5 separate regions of the Homo sapiens genome follow, and regions 1, 2, 3 and 4 are each linked to region 5. Evidence: promoter capture Hi-C in human tissues and cell types (Jung and others, 2019). All regions are on one chromosome and are shown on one strand. The core of a region is centred on a gene start or on the middle of the fragment in contact, and the rest is flanking DNA. Distances in the headings are between cores, read along the strand shown.

The links. Contacts are between HindIII fragments. The study calls those that stand out against the background at their distance.
Region 1: a contact is called between a fragment that was not itself captured here and the fragment with the promoter of NIPAL2 in region 5, in 2 of the 25 tissues and cell types used here (IMR-90 fibroblasts and aorta).
Region 2: a contact is called between a fragment that was not itself captured here and the fragment with the promoter of NIPAL2 in region 5, in 1 of the 25 tissues and cell types used here (thymus).
Region 3: a contact is called between a fragment that was not itself captured here and the fragment with the promoter of NIPAL2 in region 5, in 2 of the 25 tissues and cell types used here (H1 embryonic stem cells and mesendoderm cells).
Region 4: a fragment that was not itself captured here is called in contact with the fragment with the promoter of NIPAL2 in region 5 in 4 of the 25 tissues and cell types used here (H1 embryonic stem cells, dorsolateral prefrontal cortex, mesendoderm cells and 1 more).

The regions. Positions count from the first base shown.
Region 1 is chr8:98,492,263-98,495,607 of GRCh38, reverse strand. All of the region lies in intron 10 of STK3 (serine/threonine kinase 3), which reads left to right. Among named protein-coding and RNA genes, the nearest start is that of KCNS2, 67 kb to the right of the region's middle. The HindIII fragment of the contact is 3,282 bases long and covers 162-3,345 here.
Region 2 is chr8:98,473,343-98,476,406 of GRCh38, reverse strand. All of the region lies in intron 10 of STK3 (serine/threonine kinase 3), which reads left to right. Among named protein-coding and RNA genes, the nearest start is that of KCNS2, 48 kb to the right of the region's middle. The HindIII fragment of the contact is 3,817 bases long and covers 1-3,064 here.
Region 3 is chr8:98,445,067-98,448,366 of GRCh38, reverse strand. It overlaps a transcript of STK3 not described here. Among named protein-coding and RNA genes, the nearest start is that of KCNS2, 20 kb to the right of the region's middle. The HindIII fragment of the contact is 4,082 bases long and covers 1-3,300 here.
Region 4 is chr8:98,155,958-98,159,272 of GRCh38, reverse strand. It overlaps POP1 (POP1 ribonuclease P/MRP subunit), which reads right to left. Exons shown (of 16, transcript NM_001145860.2): 15 at 2,861-3,223; 16 at 1-1,656. The coding sequence ends at 1,002. Among named protein-coding and RNA genes, the nearest start is that of NIPAL2-AS1, 19 kb to the left of the region's middle. The HindIII fragment of the contact is 5,544 bases long and covers 1-3,315 here.
Region 5 is chr8:98,292,985-98,296,099 of GRCh38, reverse strand. NIPAL2 (NIPA like domain containing 2) reads left to right here and starts at 1,865. Exons shown (of 11, transcript NM_001321635.2): 1 at 1,865-2,097. The coding sequence starts at 1,963. The region is part of intron 5 of LOC105375659 (a long non-coding RNA gene); the gene reads right to left. RefSeq lists a silencer at 1,626-2,345. The HindIII fragment of the contact is 9,267 bases long and covers 1-3,115 here.

The DNA.
Region 1 (3,345 bases), core at 553-3,052, 200 kb before region 5:
ATGTTTTGTTTTATGTAATTAGACCATGCTAGGTGAATTAAGTATGTAATTAAAAACAGAAGGTTTGGCTAATTCAGAGTAAATGAGTACAAAATACAAGGTCATTATCCATCTCTAGTGAGACTCCAGATGAACAGTGCACATGGAACTATTTATAAAACATTTTTCATGGTCAGAGCTCCTCTAGGTTGCTGTCCATGGCCTTTGAATTAAGTATTCACAGACTTTCAGGAAAAAAAAAAGTACCTGTAATATAGAAATATGATCCCACTTAAGGTGCTCATCTGAGTGGAAAACCAAAAAAGATTAGAATCTAATCTTCTATCCCAGATAGAAAAGGTAAAATGTATTCCTCCTGTTTGAAACGTGAACATTTACTATGTTGCTTGGCACATTGCGTTGATGGTTAGAACTGTGAAACTTTTGAGAGTCCTGACTCTCATTTGTTTTCATTTCATGCAGCCTGGAGATGTACGGGCAAAATATCCCTAATTTAATCTGTTTCCTCCGTGCTTAGTCACAGTGGGTGACATGGGATGGATTTTTTCTTCTGGAAAGCCTGGAAAGTATTTTATTTGAAATATATTTTCTTTTATAGTATGAGAATGTGCAGCTTTTAGAAAGCTGGTGTTTAATTTAGTGGTTGGATTCATGAAGAAAGTTTGAATCAGTGACTGGAAGCACAAAGCTGAACCTTCTCTTAGCAGTCCCTTCACAGTTGGGCTCCTGGTGTCTCTCCAGTTTTTTCCTGCTGTTCTCTCTTCCACAGTAGCTGTGCTTCAGTTTGCCTGGGCTTTTCCAGCATCACCACCACTGTCTTCATCCACTGTCTTTGGCTTGCCTTTCTTGGCACTGTTTAAGATTGGTTTCCTGAAGCAAAAAATGGGTTAGGTCTCCCAGTAAATGTTTTCATAATCTCTCTCTCTCTTTTTTTTTTTTTTTTTTTTTTTTTTGAGACAGGGTCTCACTCTGTCACCTAGACTAGTGTGCAGTGGCACCATTATAGCTCACTGCAGCCTTGAACTCCTGGTCTTAAGTGATCCACCCACCTTAGCCTCCCAAAGTGCTGGGATTACAGGTGTGAGCCACTGTGCCCAGCCAATGTCTATTTTAATTCCCTAATCTAAGCCAGTTAAGAAGTTAAGATGCCCATGCAAACAATTATAATGCAATAAGATCATTGTTTAATGGAAGAGTCTTCAAAACTACAGTTAGGAATATATAAGGAACACCAAAGTTCACCTGAGAGAAAAGGGATGCTGTTAGAGAAGTTAGCATTTAAACAGATACCTAAGAATGAGTAAGAATGTACCAGATAGACAAGTGGAAAAAATGGTGCTGCAGTATTTACAGAAGGACTAGCCATAAGAAAGCATGTTCAGTGTTGCTAGAGCATGAAATTGAGTTGGAAAGTGGTAGAAATGAGGCTGGAGAGTAGGCAGCAGCGTTTATACCTTACAAGGAGGTTGGGAGTTGGGCTTATGGATAACTGAAAGCCATTGAAAAATTACAGCAAGCTGACCTCTTGAAACAGAATTGCAAAAAATTGAGATTGGAAGTAGAGAAATCATTAAGGGGATTGTTGCAATATGACATAGTCCAAATGAGAAATGAACAAAAGCAATGAAATTGATATTAGGGGACAGTTTTGAGAGAATCTCTAGTCCTTAGTGATTAGATCTGGGAAGTAAGAGAAAAGGAAGATCTCAGATAAGTCCCAGATTACCTGAATAACTAGGTGAAGGAGAGAAGAGGGGTTGGTGGATCCATTCAATTTAAGGAATAGTGACTTTTTAAGGTGGAATATGATGAATTCATTTTGGTTATATAAGTACCATCAGACATTCAGAAAGAGATGCTTCTTAGACATAACCAGAATTGGAGTTCCACAGAGATCTGGGCTAGAGATTTCTGGATTGTGAGTCATCTTTTAATTGGTATAGTTCAAGTCATCAGTATAGAGGGAGAATAATATTAGACTGAGATGGGTCCCTGTGGAGCAACAACAGAGAAAGGAATGTGACATCTTAGATACTGAGGGAGGAGAACATTTCAAGAAAGAGGAAATGAATGTGTAAAAAGCTTCAGCAAGATCGAATCATAGGAGAGCTAAAACCCGAAGATTGGATAAGGTGTTAAGGAGATCAATGTTGCTTTTAAGTGAAGCAGCCTCCATGAGATGGTGACGCCTAAAGCCAGACTGCTTCAGAGCGGGAAGTGAATCAAGGAGGGAAGAAGTAGACTTCTTCCTAGAAGTTGCTTGTGAAAAGAAGAGATATAATAGTTAAAGGAGAACATAAGATTAAAGAAACTTTTTATTTTATTTTATATTGCTTTTAGATATGAAACGCTTGATGATTTTTTTTTTTTTTTTTGAGACAGGGTCTTGCTCTATTGCCCAGGATGGAAATGCAGTGGCACAGACACAGTTCACTGCAGCTTCGACCTCCTGGGCTCAAGCAATTCTCCTGCCTCATCCTCCCAAGTAGCTGGGACTACAGGTGCACACTACCATGCCTGGCAAATTAAAAAAAAAAAAATGTAGAGTTGGGTCTCACTATGTTACCCAGGCCGGTCTCAAACTCCTGGGCTCAGGCAATCCTCCCGCCTTGGCCTCCCAAAGTGCTGGGATTACAGGTGTGAGCCACCATGCCTGGCATACTTGATGATTTTTATATGCTGAAAGAGCTAATGGCAGGAATTGGAGGATTGACTGAAGATAGTCAATGGAATGAAGTTCCTAAGGAAAGAGGAGGGGATGGGACCTAGAGCACTAGTAGAGAAACCACATCTGGACAGGAAGAGGGAGAAGTGTTACTCTGGGTCAAAGGAATTAGAGGATAAGAGTGGGTGCAGCCTTCAGGGTGTGGGTGACACCTGATAATTACTCCCCTCTCTTTTTATCAGTTCTCTTGCCAAATATCTAGCAATTTCAAATCTTAACTGCCATTGTAGGTCTTCTTGATTTATCTAACCATAAAATCCATTCCATTCCTGCCAAAAAAAAATACAAAACACTATTTTTAATACCACTTCTTTACCACACTGAATGTTGTTCCCTTTCTTTAAACTATTTCCTTTTTAAAATTATTACTATCTTCAGCATATTTGCATTTGATTTTTAGGCCTTTCTCCAATTTCACACCTCTTCTAGATTAACTTAGTTCTCCCCCATGTTCTCTTTCCTATTCCAACTTCACAGAATTAAATATACTTCTAACACACTCCTGACAGGCAGAAAGACATCATTTCTTAAAACTCTTTAAATCCTGCCTGCCCAGAAAGATCCTTTTGGAGTAAATCAGAAATTGCAACTTAATTTAAGATATCATATTACTGCTTGCT
Region 2 (3,064 bases), core at 252-2,751, 180 kb before region 5:
CCGTGTCAGTGTCCTTTGTAATTCTAATTAGTCCTGATAATTACCTTGGACTTTTCATCACCTAACCAGTAAAAACCCAAGTCTGCCCAATATTAGAGTTTGTGGGGCAATAAAAGTCTCTTCACTGGACTGAGTTGCTCCCAAGATTTCATATCTGTAAGCAAATCACAGCCTGATTCTCACCTTCCTTGCATGCCTCTGATTTTGATGAATTATCTGGATAAAACAGAGGATATTATATGTTGAATACACAGGTAACATTAAACTTTTCTCCCCCAATGTTTTGAATACAAACTTCCAGTCTACACTTAGGTACATGTTGGAGTAAAAGTCAAATCTTGGTGTTTTCTCTGCCCAGTATCCCTACCTTTGCCTTGAAGTGTATCTAAGGCCTAGATGGAATTTATAGTCCTAAATAGTTTGCTTTAAAGTGAACTAGAACATCGTGATACTCTGCTTACCGTATTTGATTATGACAAACTGTCAAATAACAGTTCAGTCAATGAATGGTGCTGCTTGTGGGTGAGCTGAGAAGGTCATAGGCAGAAAAAGCAAGAAATTCTAGAGGAGGAACTAGCATAATTTGTTTCGCGTCTGGCAAAAGAATGGAAAGGTTATCATTGTTAAATCCGCCATTTATAATTCTCAAAGTTTTAGCTCATAGGGGCATGGTGACAGTGTTTTGTTTCACTTCTTTAAACTTGATGCTGACTTTTATCATAGCGTAGATATCAGATGATGCTTTAAAAAACCTCCTTAAGAGAGTTGTCTATTTTTATTTTTAAATATTTCAAATGGATGGTGTTTCAGGTCAGACCTCATTTTTGTAATAGTACATGGAGTCTGTTCTTTAACAAATTGTATTCAACCTTATTGTGGATTAATATTCTGGTAATATGGTTTTACTTTCTAAAAAACTAGTCTTCAGAACAGTCTAGCAAAAGATCTATTGTAGTCAGCTCTAAAATTGTTTTCCTGGTGCTTGAGAATTAAAGGCTTTTGAAGTAAGTTAAATAGGCCATCTCTGTTGTCACTGCCTCTTGTATAACAATGGATGTTCTACATTCTCTCTTCTCACCCCTGTTCTTGGTGCTTCTGAGCAAGATCATGCACACACTTAAGCACAGGACTTTCAGGTGCATGAACCTGAGAGTCCACAAAGCTTCCGGCTCCTACTCAGCATTAAGATGTCAACCATAGAAATTATGGTCCCTAATAAGGCTTGAGAATTGTGCTAGCCAATGAATTGATTGAGACATTCAAGTCATTGGATATGGGTATACAGATGAGCTCAGATTTCAGGAAACTTCATCACAGTAACGTCTTTAATTATTAATATTGACTCATTTTTCTGAATATGTGTATGTCACCGTGATGACAAACACTAACAAGTTAATAAATACAATCTTCACTAGTGGTTGTTGCCATGTAAGATGGCTCTTATTCTTAAAGCAATATTAATGGGTGACAGATTGGATGATGTTAGGCACCTGCTAAATTTGGGGATCTAAAGAAGGCCCAGTCCTATATTCACGTATCTCATATTGTACAGTTCTAATGTGGCAGAAATTTAAAAAATGATTGCAGTACGGTGATAAATGTTATAACAGAGACATATGCAAAATTATCTTTAGGTATATGGAGAAAAAAGTAACTCAGTATGCTTACAGGGAAAATTTGACCAGGAAGACTTTATGAAGATGACATTTAAGATCAGTCCTAAAGATGAATAGAACTTCATCAGGCAGAGATGAGGGAAAGGACACTCTCAGTAGACAGAACTGTGTTAACAAAGTCTTGAAGCCAAAGTGGGGAGTGTGGAACAACATTCTAAGCAAAGGAAAGGCATGTAATCATTTAATCCTAACCTCTTAATTTTTGGACGATTTTACTCCCAATTCACATGCAAAGAGCTTGGTGAATCTGAGAAACTGAAAGAGAATCAGTCATGATGGAAACATAGGAGTAATGGCTAGAGTAGCACAAGCTGAAGCTGCAGACCTAGGCAGGATTAGATTCAGGCAAGGCCGCATTTGGATTTCATATGCAAGAAAGAGCCATTTCCGTATCTTAGGGGCAGGACATGACCCAGTATACATTTTTAAACAATAATTCTGGCTGCTGTATGGAGAGTGAATTGGAGGGGAGCAAAGATAGAAGGAAACTAGTTAGGAAGCTATTGAAACAGTGTGCTCAAGATAAGAGGGCTTTGACTGGGGAGATGACAGCAGATGAAGAGGAGGACATCGATTTGACATATCTTGGTAAGTAGTATGAACACCACAAGGCATGGCAACATTTGAATATGGTAGGTTCTTAGCATTTGCAACTAGTTGGATGGTGGAAGAGCCATTTAGTGAAATAGGAAAGGTTAAAAGATAAACAGTTTAGAAGGTCTCTGTCAGATATGAACTTACTGAGTATTGCAATACCCAGGAGACATCTAATAGAATTGCTAAGTTCTGGAACTCAGAAGACAGATCTATATTAGAGATACTATCAGATAGATGGTATTTAAAGCCCAGGGCATGTATGAGACTGCCTAGGAAATGGAGTATATAGTAAAAGCCCAGAGTCCTGAGTAGTTCTAACATTTAGTAGTTGAGAAGAAGCCAATAAAGGAGATTGAGAAATGGCCATAAATTTAGGAGAAAAGAGAGCATGGTGTTGTAGGAGCCAAGAGAGGGAGGTTTCAAGAAGGAAAGGTGTGGACAAAGTATCAAGTACAGCTGGAGGGGCCAAATAAGATAGAAACTAAAAAGAATTCATTTAACTTTGGCGACCTAACAAGAGGAATTTGGAGAGCATTAGGGGATCAGAAGCCAGTATGGAGCAAGTTGAAGTTTGATTGCCAATTTAAAATATGGTTATTGTTTTCTCCATACTTTGAGAAGTTTGACTTTCTAAAGGAGAAGAGGGATGGAATTGTGACAACTGGAGGAATGGCCGTGAGTCAAGGCAGGGTTTTCTTGAGATAAGAAAAAACAATAAAAGTTTAAGATGGGAAATATCAGAAAGTATATCATGTTGATGCTAAAGACAAAGAGAGTTTGAAGATGCACAA
Region 3 (3,300 bases), core at 587-3,086, 150 kb before region 5:
ACATGGAGGAATCTGAAATGTGGAATTGTTTCATTATTAATCAATCAGTGTGCAAATTCATGAATTCCTTCTCTGTTGTCCTTCCATAAAGTATATAGGAGTTTATTTTAAAAGCACACCAGCTGACGACCATAAATCAGTTTGCATGCTTAGCATGTCATCTTTAAAAATTATATGTGATATTACAGCCTGATAGTAATGAATGAATGAAATGGACCTTTAAAAGTTTCAGCAAAGCTTTTTGATTCTGAGAGTAAATTAATTGCTTTAACAAGTAAGTAGTGATTTGGAGTTTGATTTGAATTTGAATGTGTCAGGCAGTCAAAAAAGTCCAAGCAGAATGTTTTTAAAGTTCTTTTTTTTTTTCAGTTTATATTGCTTTATTATTATTATTATTATTATTATTATTATACTTTAAGTTTTAGGGTACATGTGCACAATGTGCAGGTTAGTTACATACAAAGTTCTTAATGTAAAATTATTTCAATTTCAGAGTAATCTAATGGGTTGCTAGTTTTTTAATCTTGTTCAATGAATCCTGGTGCCTTGCTCAGTTCCCTGACATTCATCCACAGCAATGATAGCAAACATATATATAATATTGTATATATTTTACAAATATATACAAATACATGCAACATAATGTATTGCAATATATAGATACTATATATAGTATTGCAATATATAGATACTATATATAGTATTGCAATATACAGATACTATATATAGTATTGCAATATATAGATACTATATATAGTATTGCAATATATAGATACTATATATAGTATTGCAATATATAGATACTATATATATATATAGTATATATGCAATACGATATATACAAATACATGCAATATTTGTCTGTGGTATTCTTTTCTAACTTGCCTGAGAGAAAACAATTTCTTCTGACAGAAAAGGCCTATCCTTACTCTGTCCAATTAGAAGTCAATTCATTTCCTTAGTTCTTGAGGTTGTTATAAAAATATAAGAAAGATTATATCTTTTACAGATTGGAAGTCCTCAAAGGTAGGTATCTTTGAAGCTCTGCTGCCTAACTTACTGCATGGCCATGAGTGAGTTCCTTAATCCTTTTTATAAGTCTCACCTTCTTTTTTTAACCTTCTATTTTAGGTTTGGGGACACATGTGAAGGTTTGTTACATAGGTAAATCCATATGTCATGGGGGTTTGTTGTACAGATTATTTCATCATTCAGGTACTAAGCCTAGTACCCAATAGTTATTTTTCGTGTTCCTCTCCCTCTTGCCACCCTCCACCCTGAAGTAGGCGCCAGTGTGTGTTGTTCGCCTCTATGTGTCCATGTGTTCTCATCATTCAGCTCCCCCTTATAAGCAAGAACATGTGGTATTTGGTTTTCTGTTCCTGTGTTTGTTTGCTAACGATAATGGCTTCCAACTCCATCCATGTCCTCACAAAAGACATTATCTCATTCTTTTTTATGGCTGCATGGTATTCTATGGTGTATATATACTGTATTTTCTTTGTCCAGTCTGTCATTGGTGGGCATTTAGGTTGAATCCATGTCCTTGCTATTGTGAGTGATGCAGCAATGAACATTTGCGTGCATATGTCTTTATGGTAGAATGATTTATATTCCTCTGCATATAAACCCAGTAATGGGATTGCTGGGTCAAATAGTAGTTCTATTTTTAGCTCTTTCCACAATGGTTGAACTAATTTACACTCTCACCAACAGTATATAAGCATTCCCTTTTCTCCGCAACCTCACCAGCATCTGTTATTTTTTGACTTTTTAGTAATAGCCATTCTGCCTGATGTGAGATGGTATCTCAGTGGTTTTGATTTGCATTTCTCTAATGATCAGAAGTCTTACCTTCTTTATCAAGCAGAGACAACCTCAGAGGGTTATGAAAAGTAAATGAGAGATGCACAGAAAACCCTTCAAACACTACCTGGCACCCATGAGTACCCATGACTTGCACTTTCTTTACTCATCAACAAGCATCTATTAAGCACCAACTGTGTGCCAGTGTCTAAGCTAAGTGTGAAATACAGAAATAAAGGCAGCTTTGTTCCTACCCAAGAGCTGGTGCTTATAGCCTGGTACAGGCATGGACACCCACGTGTGGTCATTGCAATAAGAAAGATGTAAACAAAGCCCTGCAGGAGTAGGAATAGAGGAAGTCTTCACTAATGAGATATTTGAACTGAGTCTTGAGGCATGTAAGGCAGGAAAGGGAGAAAGGCACTTTGAGGAGGGCAAAGCATATATAAAGACAGAGATGAGAAAGAATGTCTAGCATACCTTTCGGTGTCTGAGAAAGTTCATTACACAATTAAAGCAGTGAGGGTAGTTTGTCTTGCTTACTCTCTCTGCCCTGCAGTTTAGGAGAGGTCATGGAATCATGTGGTCTGTTTTTGTTTTTGTTTTCCCAAATCACTGAATGTTTTCCAGATAAATTAACACCAGTTGGAGCTAGCCTATTTTCTGGTGCCTTTAGATACTGGTCACACTCGGCTGTACTCAATTCTACTGTTTAATAAATATCTAGAAATAGTGATGTCTGCAGAGGCTTGCTGAGGTTAGGTGTTGGGGAAAAAGGGGCAGAGAGAGGTAGGTAGAGAGTTGGCAACAGCTTCTGAGGAGACAGGTTTATATTCAGTTCCTCAAATCAGTTCACTATCTGCATGCTCCGAGTGAAAAGCTTATCTTCTTTTTGTCAGCAGTTTTCTTCTTGAGGCCATCAGCATTTTCCATTTTTAATTAAGGCAATTTACAAAGAAGGATGCATAAAACATAATAAAATAGCTAAATTAAGAACAAATGAGAAAAGATATGACATACGATATTTTACTGTGAAAATACAAAAAAATACAAAAAAAGTAAAATATCTCAATAATCTTTTATATTTATTATGTGTTGAAATAATAATATTTTGGATATGTTTGGTGGAAATATATTATTAAAATTAATTTCATCTGTTTTTCTTTTACTTTTAAAAAATGTGGCTACTAGAAAATATAAAATTATATATGTAGCTCACATTTGTAGTTTGCGTGACATTTCTATTTGACAGTGACAGTCTATTAGCTAAACGCATCCATCAGCTGATGAATGGATAAATGAAATGTATATCCATTCTGGGGAATATGATTTAGCAATAAAAAGGAATAAAATAATGGGGACAGGATTTTTGGGGGAGGTGATGAAATTGTTCTAAAATTGATTATGTGATGGTTGCAGAACTCTGAATATATTAAAAACCGTGGAACTGTACGCTTTAAAAAATGAATACATTGTATTAAGCTATATTATAAT
Region 4 (3,315 bases), core at 260-2,759, 140 kb after region 5:
TGCCCAAAGCGCGCTACTAAGAACACTGGTCCTACAAAGGGCTCCTTGTAAGAGAACTTTAGGAATCACAAGTATTTAGAAAATACTATACACTATCATTTCCTTCCTAGAGATCCGCAATGCACATTATCACATGGAAGTTTCCAGAAGTTCTTTCATAAAGAAATGCTTAACTTTATTTAACCTAGAGTTTCCATATCAACCTGACCTTGGAATCTCTTACTTTTTTAGGTGACACATATCATAGAACATATTCTGAGAAATGCTCCTCTATGGCTTTGAGAAAATCTTTGCAGAAACAAAATAATAATAATTTTTTACTTAAAAAAATTAAGTAACTAGTAGGATCAAGTGTTGGTCAACAACAAAGAGATCAAAGAGTCAGGAAGTCCACGTCATAGACCCCCACTTTCTAATTCCAGCCTAGCACTGACGCCATAAACTGTGCCTGCCTGAAAACAGGCAGAAATCAGTTGTCCATGATTTCTCTCTTTAAGGCTTGAGTTGTTCGGCATGGAAATCACAGTACAGAATTGAATGAGGTCCATCAGGAGCCCATATTTCATGTACAGAGGCCAAGCGTCTTCTCTTGTCTTCTGCTATAACAGTGAAATCATTAAACATCTATTGTTGCTTATCACATGACTATGAGGTTTTTCAAATAGACCTGACAAGCCCTTTGTTTCTAACAAAAAAAGGGGATGATAACTCGTAGAGCTTCTCATTATTTTCAGCCACAACTACACAGACCAAGAGATCATAATACAAAGCTTTTGGCCAAATAATTTAAAAGTATTACAGCAAGGACAGGGAAAGATGAAAATCAATGACATTACTGGAATGATGTAAACATTTCATCATCTGCATAATACATAATTTTTTATTCTTGTTTCCAGGGAGTTTCACATGATATTTTAAAGCAGAAGCAGATTCTCCACATGTAGAACTTGGCAGACAATAATAACGTATTATCTATGCCCTGCTGGGATACAAGCACGCATTCACACCTCAATAGCAATCCTCGCAAATCGATACTGCAGAGAGGCGGGAGGCCTCAGTAGCACTAAGCCCCTCTGCGCTGCAGGCTGGCTGGACAGCATATCCAGCAAGCCTGTCAAGCTAACAAACCCCAGGGCTTCTCCACAGCCAACAGCCATGGAAAAATCTCCCTGAGTCACAAAGCCTAGGAGAGTTCTGGAGCAGTGCAACGTCACACGCGGCAGAGGGCCTGACCACAGCCCTAGAGTCAGAGCTTCCTGCCCAGCCACGGGCTCTTCCCCCGCCGGGCCATCAGAAGAGGCACGTCCTGGCTTCTGCCTCTTCTCCCTTTTCTTCTTCTCTTTCTGTTTCAGGATCTTGCTCCTGAATGGGTCACTGTGTTTGGATTCCTGGGGCCCACAGTAATGCCAGTCCTCATGGAGCTGGAGGAAGTCCTCCTTGGCTGGGACACAGATCATGGTGTGAGGCTCGGGGCTGCCCTTGCTGAGCAGGGACAGGCTGACCCAAACCAGGGCCCTGGGGAAGTGGCCCAAGATGGACAGGCAAGCCTCTCTGGTCAATCCTTGCTGGCCTCTGCCGGGAGCTCGCCGGCCTCCCCGACTATCCTCAGAACTGGGCCCACACCAGGCTGACAGTTGCTTCAGTAATTTTCTACTCCTACATGAAGTTGGAGACATACGTTTGAGGATATTTTGTTCCAGAAAAAAATATGCAATCAGAAGATTAGACACTGCTAGAATTAATTTGATTCTTTTATACTATATAAGAATCAAAACTACAATTTTTTAAAAATTAGAAATACACTGTAGTACATTTTAGTACTTATATTTTTCTTTTTATGTGTTTGCCATTCTGAAACTCAGGGACTAAAGATTTAAGAAGTTGAAGGCAGGGAAAACAAGACAGTGAGATAGAATCTAGGATTGTAATCACAGTGAGGGTGAAAATAAAGAGCCACTAAGATTTCAATGAGTAAAGGAACTGTAAGGGACTGTTACATGTAAAGTAAGAAAGAATGATAGGAAATTATGAGGCTACTATACGGAAAAGTAAGCACAAGGCTAGAGGGATAAGCACTTTTTAAAAATCAAAGCACAGGCCGGGCGCAGTGGCTCACACCTGTAATCCTAGCACTTTGGGAGGCTGAGGTGGGCGGGTCACCTGAGGTCAGGAGTTCGAGACCAGCCTGGCCAACATGGTGAAAATTAGCCAGGCGTGGTGGCATGTACCTGTAGTCCCAGCTACTTGGGAGGCTGAGGCAGGAGAATCGCTTGAACCCAGGAGGCCGAGGTTGCAGTGAGCCAAGATCACACCTCTGCACTCCCGCCTGGGTGACAGAGCAAGACTCCATCTCAAAAAAAAAAAAAAAAAAAATCAGAGCAAAGCACAGAATGCAGGGTCACTGATGAGCAGAACCTGGCCCACACCAATACTGAGAGGAGAACATAGTGTATCCGGTAGCCTCTCTGGCTAGGACTATATTACATCTAATGGGTTGCTGCTCTAACACAAATCCATATAATTCAAAAGGAACTAGAAGAAATCTAATTTGGTAATTTAAAGCAAAGAATCCTTGCTCAAACTGCATAAAATATGTCAGAAAAAAAACTGCCTTGGCTTGGATCTATTGATGACAATATTGTAAATCATTTCATCAATTAGCATCATGCCTTACATCAAATATTATTAAGCTGTTTCCCTGAGCCCTCTATGAAATATAAAAGACTGGCTTTCCCTTCCAGAAAGCCTATAAATTCACTTGGATTTTGCATAAACAAACAGTGATAACGCTTACATCCTGTAGCCTCTTCAATATTAAAATAAATAATCCAAAATGTACCCAGAAGTCACCGACACTTACCTGAGAACGCAGAGGTGACTCCCTGTGGCAGCAACATGGTTTTCACTGGCCTCCTGGTCTGTGATCCTCTCAGGCCCTGCCGATTCTTGACACCCTGCATCCATTACCTCCTCTGCCTCCCTGGGGTGCTCTATGGATGTGCCCACTTCATCAGATGGCTGATGAGTTTTTTTAGGCATGGGAGCACAAGGCACCTCAGATCTTCTTAGGTCACTCTCCTTACCATTTGGAGATGAAGCTACAGAAGGTTCTTCGTAAGCCTGGACTCTTGACTCCCAGTCTTGAGTTAACTGCTCCCAGGGACAGCAGAAAGGTGCCAGAGTGCCAAGCTTAACGTAGTTGGGCCGTTTTGCAGGAGGGCGTCTAAAGAAAAACATACAGGAGAACCAATGTTGAACAATTTAGGATTGGAAAACTAAAATAATTATAACCATTATAATGCATCTCTATTTTAA
Region 5 (3,115 bases), core at 616-3,115:
TTTTATTTGGATACTCTGTTACTTGCACCCTAAAGCATGTGAAGAGAAAGAAGCATTAATGAAGTCACCAATATCAATGAATGTGATGTTATAGAAAACTTATCAGACAAGGCATGGCAGCTCACACCTGTAATCCCACCACTTTGGGAGGCCGAGGTGGGACAACTGTTTGAGGCCAGGAGTTCTAGACCAGCCTAGGAAAAATTGCGAGACCCTGTCCCTACAAAAAAATAGAAAAATATTAGCCAGGGCCAGGTGTGGTGGCTCACACCTGTAATCCCAGCACTTTGGGAGGCCAAGACAGGGGGATCACTGGAGGTTAGGAGCTTGAGGCCAGCCTGACCAACACCGTGAAACCCTGTCTCTACTAAAAATACAAAAATTAGCCGGGCTTGGTGGTGTGCACGTGTAGTCCCAGCTACTCAGGAGGCTGAGGCAGGAGCATTGTTTGAACCCAGGAGGCAGAGGTTGCAGTGAGCTGAGATTGTGCCACTGCACTGCAGCCTGGGCAAGAGAGAGAGACTCTATCTAAAAAAAAAAAAAATTAGCTGGGCATGGTGGCATGCACCTGTATGTAGTCCCAGGTGGGAGGATCACTTGGGCCCAGGAATATGAGGCTAAAGTGAGTCAAGATCACACCACTGCACTCCAGCCTGGGCAACAGAGCAAGACCCTGTCTCAAAAAATAAAATAAAATGTAATATAACAAATAGAGACCTTTTTCCTTCAGATATTTATTTGAAGTAAATCAGCCTCTTAAAATTGGGAATAGTTACCTACAATTGTTAGCTGTTCACTGAACATCTCGAGTGCTTAAGCAAGAAACTACACAATTTCTGAGACGACATGTCTTGTTTTTTCTGTATGTGAAATGACTTTTTCTCACTCTTTTCTCTCATTTGCACATTTCCCCTAAGAAACACTGAAAACTGTCCCTGCTCCCTTCTAGGCAGCAATTCTCTTTTCTTGAAGGTCTCTCTTTCATGAACTCATGGAAGTCAAAGCACATTATCTAAGAAAAACCTCAGCATTGTGTAAACAAAAGAAGGCAACTATCAGCCTTCAGGCAACAGTATAGAATCATGGTTTTTTTAAAGTGAGAAATACCCTACAGATCATTTGTGGTCACACATTAGAATTTGAATACAGGTAAAACCAGAACATCTCGTTAGAGTTCTTAAGATTAATAACAACATTTATCTTTCATCCTAAATTCATATATACAGTAGCTGGCAACTTTTCAGCAACTCCACCTGATCCCATCTGAAGCAAACCCAATCCAGTCATCGCACACTGGGGTCCTATGGCTACCACATTCCTCATTCAAGGAATATTTACTAAGGATCTATCAAGCACTGGCACTGAGATTCAATCGCTCGGATCTTTTTTTCTCATATTGCTTACAATATTTCTGGGAACTCATGACTTTTTCATATGCAATCAATTTTTAAAATATCGGTGAGAAACACTACATATGTGATAGAGGACTGGAATTGCCAGGTAGAGATGGGAGATGATAGCTGCTTTGGGTTAGTCAGTGTCTCCTCCTCTTCCATTGACTTGGACAAATGTTTACAACGGAGATGATCTGATTCTGGCCCCGACAGGCGCGGGGACCCGTTGCGGACGGCCGCGGGGATTGCCCCCTTGGGCAGTGCGGCCCCGAGGATGCAGACACTGGCCCAGCGGAAGGAGGGCGCGGTGCGAGCTGGACGGCCCCGGGAGGCCGCAGACCGCCGGGCTCCCCGAGGACACCTCGCACCGGAGGAGGAGAGGAGGCAGCGCCCGGCCAGGCTGGGAGCACCTACGGCCGCGCGGGGGCGGGAGCCAGGTGGCCTCGGCGCGCCCGCCTCGCCCGGGCACCGAGCAGGAAGTGGCTGCGGCGCGGCCTCCTCGCGGTGCAACAGGGCGGGGAGGCGGCCGCAGCCCGAGCCGGAGCCCGAGCGCCGGGAGCGAGACCTCATGGCAGCGGTGGCGCCCGCGGGCCCCGGGGACTCCGCCTCGGCCGCCCTGGACGAGCTGTCACTGAATTTCACGTACGGGGCACCAGGCGCCGGCAACGGCTCCCTCTCGGGCGACTGGTACCGCAGGAACCAGGTAAGGGCCGCCCCGCAGCCACCGCAGCCCGGTGGGGACGCGGCCAGGGCGGCTGGCTCCGGGCGCCTCTGCGCCTCGGCCGCTTTCCTGCCAGCTCTCAGGAAGACACCCGGCCTCTCCGAGTGGGAAGAGGTGACATGCAATGTTTCCCGCATTGACCTAAGTCCGCCTCATCCGGAAGCGCGGGGGTCCGCCCAGTCTTCCTCTCCCGGGCACCCGGCACTGGGAGTGGGCGCCCAGGTCTTCGGCCTTGACCTCAGCCACCCGTTCCTGGGACCTCCGGGTCCCGATCCCGCCTCCCCAGCCTGCGTCCGCCCTCTTCTCCCGGAAGGAATCTAGGAGTGTGGGGGCAATTCACTCATTTTCACCCCAGGATCCTTTTACAGTTAAAAGAAAAGAAAAAAGTGACACCCTGTTATCAGAAGCAGAAAACTCATTAAGGGCAGCCTAATGTCACCTCGCGCAGATGCCCTGCGTGTGTCCCTGGTATCTCAACACAGCTCTTCCATTTCCGTGCGAGGAACACATTTTCTCAGGTTGCATTTGCAGGACTCTCATTCTTTCCCACCGGCCCTTTGGGAAAACTTTGTTAACTTAAACAACGCCAGTTTACACTGGAAATATACATTTAACAAAATCAAAGGGACTTGGAGCCGCCCATTTATTTTTGGCTTGGTTTAAGATGAGGAAGTGTTCTGGCCAGCCCTTCCTCTAGCAGCGTTCATATTGCAACTAAGTTTTATCACGGTGGATTCCAGGCTTCCTCCTGTTTTCATTAAATGTGTTACTTTGTTCTTGTTCTTTAACAAAACCATGGATACTTTTATTTTTGCAACAATATAATCAGAAAATATTTGTTGCTGTTGTCCTAAATCGGAGAGTTTAACCAATTATCAAAGATCTGGATTCCTTTTATGCCTGAAGTGTTCTAAATATTAATTTCTGAATGCAGAAGAGAATATATTTGTATAAAGAATAAGTAAGATAAATAAGCATGTTCACTTTATTAGTTTTCAAG